Regions from separate parts of the Homo sapiens genome. Here region 1 is linked to region 2. Evidence: promoter capture Hi-C in 16 types of primary human blood cells and fetal thymus (Javierre and others, 2016). All regions are on one chromosome and are shown on one strand. Each heading gives the region's core, a stretch centred on a gene start or on the middle of the fragment in contact. The rest is flanking DNA. Distances are from core to core; before and after follow the strand shown.

The links. The method cuts DNA at HindIII sites, captures the fragments that hold promoters and counts their contacts. A CHiCAGO score of 5 or more calls a contact.
Region 1: the fragment with the promoter of DHH here is called in contact with the fragment with the promoter of BCDIN3D in region 2 in 4 of 17 cell types (monocytes, non-activated CD4 T cells, neutrophils and 1 more); the score reaches 7.1 in monocytes.

What each region holds. Positions count from the first base shown.
Region 1 is chr12:49,092,900-49,096,432 of GRCh38, forward strand. It overlaps DHH (desert hedgehog signaling molecule), which reads right to left and starts at 1,902. Exons shown (of 3, transcript NM_021044.4): 1 at 1,311-1,902. The coding sequence starts at 1,613. DHH-AS1 (DHH antisense RNA 1) reads left to right here. Exons shown (of 4, transcript XR_007063295.1): 2 at 1-6; 3 at 1,223-1,289; 4 at 2,502-2,845. The HindIII fragment of the contact is 10,631 bases long and covers 1-2,126 here.
Region 2 is chr12:49,840,690-49,844,370 of GRCh38, forward strand. It overlaps BCDIN3D (BCDIN3 domain containing RNA methyltransferase), which reads right to left and starts at 2,417. Exons shown (of 2, transcript NM_181708.3): 1 at 2,165-2,417. The coding sequence starts at 2,398. It overlaps BCDIN3D-AS1 (BCDIN3D antisense RNA 1), which reads left to right. Exons shown (of 3, transcript NR_027501.1): 3 at 1-465. RefSeq lists enhancers at 1,760-2,129, 2,700-2,759. The HindIII fragment of the contact is 7,812 bases long and covers 1-3,681 here.

The sequences.
Region 1 (3,533 bases), core at 652-3,151, 750 kb before region 2:
CTCTAGGTAGGAGGAAGGCTTCAGGGCAGAAGCAAAAGGAATTATTTCTTCCCTGGACAGGTTTTCCTAACAAAGTAACCTGGAAAACTATGGCAATTAATCAGAGGAAATCCGTACCCCTCCCTCTCCCCCCACCTCCCCACTCCATACACAATTAGGTGGTGTAATGGAAAGTATATAGGGCTTAGAATCAGGAGTCCTGAATTCTAGTCCCAGCCATGCCACTTTAAATTGTGAGAGTTTAAATTGCTTTTCCTCCTGGGGGAAGTCCAGCTCTCAGATGTAAAATGAGGGTGGCAGTGGGGGTGGGGAGGGTTGGAGGAATGTCATCTCTCAAGTTTTCTTTCAGTTCTAACATTCAAGATCACTGGCCAGGCTGGATGAAGTGGCTCACACCTGTAATCCAGCACTTTGGGAGGCCGAGGTGGGAGGATCCCTTGAGCTCAGGAGTTCAAGACTAGCCTAGGCAACATGGCAAGACCCCGTCTCTACAAAAAATAAAAAATAAATCACTCGCCAGAGGTGGTCCTTCTCTTCCACCTCACTCTAGGTGGTTCCAATGCTCAAAAATGGTAGTTGAATTTATCCTAATTATGTAATTCCAAGGAAAGCCCCTGAGATAGGCAGAGCTTGGAAGACTTAGGAGCCCTCTGATTCTCAGGTGGGTCCATCTGTTATTCTCACTGAGGATTACTTTTTAACCCCAAGATTATCGTTTAGACCCTAGGATAGCCCTAGAATAGACCCTAGAATAGATGTGTCCTGGTTCTAGGACACGTTTCCCATGCCAAAAGCAATGTCTGCCCAGCCCCTCCTCAGGTAGATGGTCTGGTGACCTGACCCTTGGCCACCCCTGTCCCAGCCCTTTTCAGTCTCTTCTTTTCGGCCCACAGAGCTTTTCTACAATCAGGTCAGGAGCCAGGCTTCTGTCTGCTACCTAGCCAGCTCCTGGCCCCCAGCTCACCCCAGCCCTTCCTGCCTGGCTGGGTGGCTGACCCCCGGTCCACGCCTCAGCCATTTCCCGTCTCGCCTGCCGCCATCCTCCTTTCCCCGCCCTCGCTGCCTCTACCAGCTTCACTCTCACTAGTCAGTCCCTCCTCCCCTCCCCATCCCAGACTATTCTAGTCGGGAGCCGTCCTAATTACTCTGTCCAGACTGCAAGGATTTTTCCCCCCCCTGGGGCTGGTGACAAGGGAAATCTCTAAGGCTAAACTCTCTGTAGGTGAAGCTGGACTCACCCACCTGGGCTGCCATAGGAAAACGGAGGAGCTGGCAGTGCCCCGGCGCAGGTAGGGAGAGGCCCTCCTTACCTCGGTCATCAGGCGGTCGGCTCCACTGTTCTCCTCATCCTTGAAGATGATGTCGGGGTTGTAGTTGGGCACGAGGTCCCGGAAGCGCTCGGAGCCCCTTGCCACCCTCCCCTCCGCTGGCCCACTGGCGCCCAGGGTCCGCTCTGGCACGCCGGGCACAAATTGCTTGTAGAGTAGCGGCACGAGCTGCTTGCGCGCATAGCGGCGCCGGCCAACCGGCCCCCGGCCCGGCCCGCAGCTCTGGGCTGGCAGCGCCAGAAGTGCCAAGCAGCACAGGGGCAGTAGATTGGTCAGGAGAGCCATGGATACAGCGGACCTCGGCCAAAAGGGAGCGTTCTTGTCCTCACTAACTCTCCTGTCAGTTAGGCATCTCCACAGGCACCAGAGAGGGCAGCAGGCACAGCTGCCCCCAGAGTGCCCTAGAGCTCTTGTGGCTCCGTGCACCTGGCTGCTGCTAGCTCTGCCCACGTGCCCCGGGAGCGGGCGGGGGGTGTCTAGGACCTGCTACTGACAAACCATCATAGCAGGGAAGGGGGGTCGTGGGTGAGTGCCAGCCCAGCCCGTCTCTGCTGCAGGACTCTGGTGCTGCCAGAACGCCCGGACTCCGGACTCCGCCTTAAGTGGCCCCTGGCCCCGCCCTCCGCCCTTCTCCCAAGACCGTCCCACCCCCTCCCACCCGGGCGGGGGATCTAGCCGGTCACTGCTGGTCCATTTTGCGACTGAAGTGTGTCCCATCCTGGAAACCAGGCAGACACCTGCCTAGGAAATACTTGTAGCTTTACAGTCCTTGGCTGCCTAAACATCCTTCTACCTCCAAGCTTAAACTTGGAACCAAACCACCCTCCTCTGATACTTGAATTGGAATTTTTACTCTCTCAAAGCCTACCCTGGCAGGCCATGCCCTCCGCTGTCATCCAGGAAGTATGGGTTCCAATTTCTGCCCAAGACCAGCCAAGCCCTTTGGGCATACAACCAGAGCCTCCCTTCTCTGTAGTCCTCCCCAGATCTCCCCGACTTCCATCTCTCCTCACATTCAGCATTAAGCAGGACTGGGAGGTGAGGATACCAGGGGCCCATTTCTCTACTAACTTTGCAGTCTCCTTTGGAACTTCCCCAGAACCAGGAACAGAGCTTGGTACTTATTGTCTCATTTAGGACTTCCAACTTTTTTCCCCTTCTCTTCTTTGCCAGGCATCTAATAGCTGCTGTTTTTCAAATGAATGACTTCTCAGTTGGAAGCTGCTGAAGGGCAGTGGACACTCAAAAGTCTTTGTAAGAGGTGAGGATCACTTCCCTTAACCGTCCATCTAGGCACCTCTCCAGCTTTCTCCCTCTCTGGACTCCCGGGGCTCCATTTTCAGCCACTCAGATCTCATCTCAGAGGCACCACGTCCAATTTCTTTTGTTTAGAAGTCATTTCTTCTAAGAAGCCTTCCTTGATGTCCCAACACTGCCCACCTGTGTTCCCTCGAGAACCATTACTTAACTGCAGTGTTAGAACAGTATTAGAATTATCTGGCACCTTACTAGACAAAGCAATCTTAAGCACACACATATTTATCATGTATCTCCAAGGTTAAGTGCCTACTCTACAGAAGGGTGCTTTGCAAGCATTTGTGGAATCTACACTTTGTGTTTCATATTCACCCTCCCCTCACCACACTCTATGGCTAGTACTCATAGCAACTTTGTGTACATCAGAAAAAACCAGGCCAGGCACAGTGGCTCACTCCTGTAATCCCAACACTTTGGGGGCGAGGCAAGGACTGCTTGAGGCCATGAGTTGAAGACCAACTTGGTCAACATAGTGACACCCCGTTTCAAAAAAAAAAAATTAATTAGTGGGAGGTAGTGGTACATGCCTGTAGTCTTAGGTACTCAGGAGGCTGAGGAAGGAGGATCACTTGGGTGCAAGAGTTCAAGGCTGTAGAGTGAGCTAAGATCATGCCACTGCACTCTAACCTGGGTGACAGAGTGAGGACCCCCCCCCCCAAAAAAAAGATGGCTGGGTGTTGTGGCTAACCCCTGTAATTCCATCATTTGGGGAGTCCAAGGTAGGTGGATCACTTGAGCTCAGGAGTTCAAGACCAGCCCAGGCAACATGGCAAAACCCCATCTCTACTAAAAATACAAAAATTAGCCAGGCATGGTAGCATGTGTCTGTTGTCCTAGCTATTCTGGAGCCTGAGCTGGAAGAATGGCTTGAGCCCAGAATGCGGAGGT
Region 2 (3,681 bases), core at 1,167-3,666:
TGGTAGGGATGAGATTTTGCCATGTTGCCCAGGCTGATCTCAAACTCCCGAGCTCAAGCAATCCACCAGCGTCAGTCTCTGAAAATGCTGGGATTACAGCGTCAGCCACTGCACCCAGCAGTTTTTTGGGTTTTTTGTTGTTGTTTTATTTGAGACAGGGTCTCACTTCGTCACCCAGGCTGGGGTATGTGGCACAATCAAGGCTCACTGCAGCCTCGACCTCCTGGGTTCAAGCGATCCTCCTCCCTCAGCTCTCTAAGTAGCTGGGACTACAGATGCCCACCACCACACCTGGCTAATTTTTTTTAGAGATGGGGTTTTGCCATGTTGCCCAGGCTGGGAAAGGAGTTTTTAAAATTGAAAAAAAAAAGCACCCATAAATTATGGTACATCTATCCAATGAAACATTAGGAAGCTGCTAAAAAAAGAATGTGGTGATATAAATAATCTCAGAATTAAAAGCTACTAATAGTGTGTTACCATTTGTAAAACTAAAAGGGGGGTACTTATATGTACGTAAATGCTGGTATACACACAAGACTGATACCTAAGAAATTATAAACAGTAGTGCCACTGTGTGGGGGAAAAGGAGGATTTAGGGTTGGGAGTAGAGACTTACTTTTTAGTATATACCCCTTTGTAGTTTGAATTTTTTTGTTTTATCAAGCGCAAGCATTTTTTTTCCCTTTCCTGACTACAAAGATCCACAAGAAAAAGCATTTTTTAAAAACTGCAAAACAGAAAGCTCCATAAACGTACAGCCAGGTTTGGGAACCACTACCCTAGTTAGCTGCCAACTATGTCTTTACCTCTCATGTGTATACTACTCTCAACTTTAAAATCTCTGGTGGTTTCCTAATGCCTTTCGTGAAATCCCAAGCCTTAACCTCAGTCTCTCTTTTCCATTGTTTTTACCCTCTGACTTCCCGTATCATCACAGCGGAGAAATTTTGCAGGGGACACAGGACATCAACCCATCTCCTCATTCCAGTCTTTGAGACTGTATCCAAATGTCCCCTTCCTACTATCATCTGAGTCCCACAAGGTCTGAAGTCGTCCCCCAAAGTCTCTTCTGTAAAAGGACAGCAACGTAACAGAATTGTCCCCCGCCCTCCAGATGCTGGACTGGAGTGATGGAGGGAGCGCAGAGAGGGTACTAACTTTTGAAGCATTTGCCGTGGTAAGTTCAGACTGCCTGCTAGTGTAGAATATCCCAGTGGCTACAAATAGGTGTGGGAGAGACATTTCCTTATTTTGCATGTGGTTTGATTATAATCATATGCCTAAGAATAGTTTGCAGCAAGAAGAGTGGCAGTGCCGCCCTTCTCCATTCCCTTGGGCAAAATGCTTTATTTGCTTCTCGATCCTCTCCACTGTACTCTGTCAACTCACTGTTTTGTTTTGTTTTTGAGACGGAGTCTCGCTCTGTCGCCCAGGCTGGAGTGCAGTGGCACTAGCTCGGCTCACTGCAAGCTCCGCCTCCCGGGTTCACGCCATTCTCCTGCCTCAGCCTCCGGAGTAGCTGGACTACAGGCGCCCGCCACCACGACCGGCTAATTTTTTGTATTTTTAGTAGAGACGGGGTTTCACCGTGTTAGCCAGGATGGTCTCGATCTCGTGACCTTGTGATCCACCCGCCTCGGCCTCCGAAAGTGCTGGGATTACAGGCGTGAGCCAGCGCGCCCGGCCTACTCACTTTTTTTGAAATAAACATGCAGGTCCCAGGGTCTGTCCTGCACTGTATAGCACACATGAGTCTCAATATCAGGCATGATTCTGTCACCCTTGGCTCTTCTCTCCCAGTAAACCAAACCTAACCCCATGTTCCCAAACGTGTGTCTCTGGAAGCCCCCTCTCCCCAGCCAAAGCGCCAGGCACGCTGGACAGAGGCCACCCTAGATACAAGGACCGTTCCCACCTGGGGTCTGGCCCTGAAAGAAAAGTGGGAACGTAGTCGACAAGGACTCCTCTCCAAGAGAGATTCCTAAGACAGATGGTGGAACCCTGGCGGGCAGGCAGCAGCGGCACTGGCTCAGTCAAAGCCACGCTTTATACTCGTTTTGGGAAAGTTTCGATGGGTGTTAGCCCAGGCCAGAACCACAGTGGATGTGTAGGCAGCCAACCACTTGGCTCCGGATGCTCCAATCCCTCCCCTGTCACTCACCCCGGAGTTACACCCCACGTCGAGCCCCAGAATCGGCCCGTTCTCGGGACTCTCAGGAAAGAGCTGTCGAAGCAGCTCCGGGGGCAGGAGGCGGAGCCGTTGCTCCGGAGGGTGGAAGCGAGAATAATGAGGAAAATTTCCGAACGGGGCGGCGCCAGGTGCCAGAACTCGCGATTCCTCTTCCGCTGCGGTCTCCTTAACACTCCCTCCATCCAGTTCCGTGGGCACCGCCATTAGCCTCAACACAGCCTCTGGGCCGTGGCGGAACCGGAAGCCGGGAACCTGCTGTCGGCGTGGGCGGTGGCGGTGCCAGCGCGCGTGCGTCGAACGGCTAGGGCGGGTGGCTAGAATTCTGCGGTGAATCAGAAAAGCTGTCCTGATTTCCTCTCGCTGTATACCTGGAGCCGGCGAGCGCCTGGGGCTTGCCTTGTATTATTGAACCCTCATCACAACACTGGGAGGGGATTAGCAATATCATCCACGTTTTACAGGGATGAAACAAACTCTGAGGGCTAAGTGTCTTGGCCAAGCTGACATAGTTTGAAACTTGGGCTACTTGACCCAGAACAAGTATACTAGTTTGTTGGGATCTTGGAAATCAATTTTAGTCCAATTTCCTTTCTTTATAAATGCAAAAAGTGAGACCGAGAGAACTTACTTGTCTGGGGTCATACATTGAATCTGTGACTCAAAAACTTCCACCCGGTTCAGGAAAGGGTAGCCAGGAGGTGCAGGTCACTTGCGAAGCCAGCCGACTCAGCCCTGTCCCCCAGGGGCAACTGTAGACCATGAGCTCCTTGAGAGGCAAGGACCGTGCCTTAAGAGCCAGCACTTAAAGAGTGCTTACCAGGCACCAGACACCCTTGTAAGCTCCTTAGTCAATCCTCTCACCCCGTGAGAAAATGACCGTATTATTATTCTTTTTATATAGATGAGGACACTGGAGTAAAACAAAGTAACTTGTCCAAGATCCCACAGTTAGAAATGATGGTACTAGGATTCGAACCCAGGGAGTTTGGATCCAGAGGATGTGCTTGCAACGGTGTGTTATTCTCAGCCTTGAGTCTCCTATACTTAACATGGGCCTGGCACAAAGATGCTCAACAAATGTTGTTGAATGAAAACTCAATAGAGAATACAATAAGGCCAGATCTGTTTGGGGAAACTTTAAATGGAAGGGAGAAAGGATGCCAACTGAAGCAGACATAGTGGAATGGAGTTGGGCAAGATGTGACTCAGAGATTGGAAATAACAGAGCTGATAAGGAGAGGAACTGAAGGGTCAACCTAGGTAGCAGGTTCCAGTCAAAAGCCAGGATGGCCCAGAATATCCGTCAGGGTCAACCAAGCATCAGCAGAGTTGTGCAGGACCCCCAACCCCACCCCTGCACCTGGCCCACCCATCTTAAAGGGGTATCCTGCTCCATGAGGCTGGCAGTTCGGTAAACTTCTTATAAGGCACTGGAGCATGACTCCTGCAAACAGTACCATCAGGAGTTAAAATAAGCGCTGTTTTCC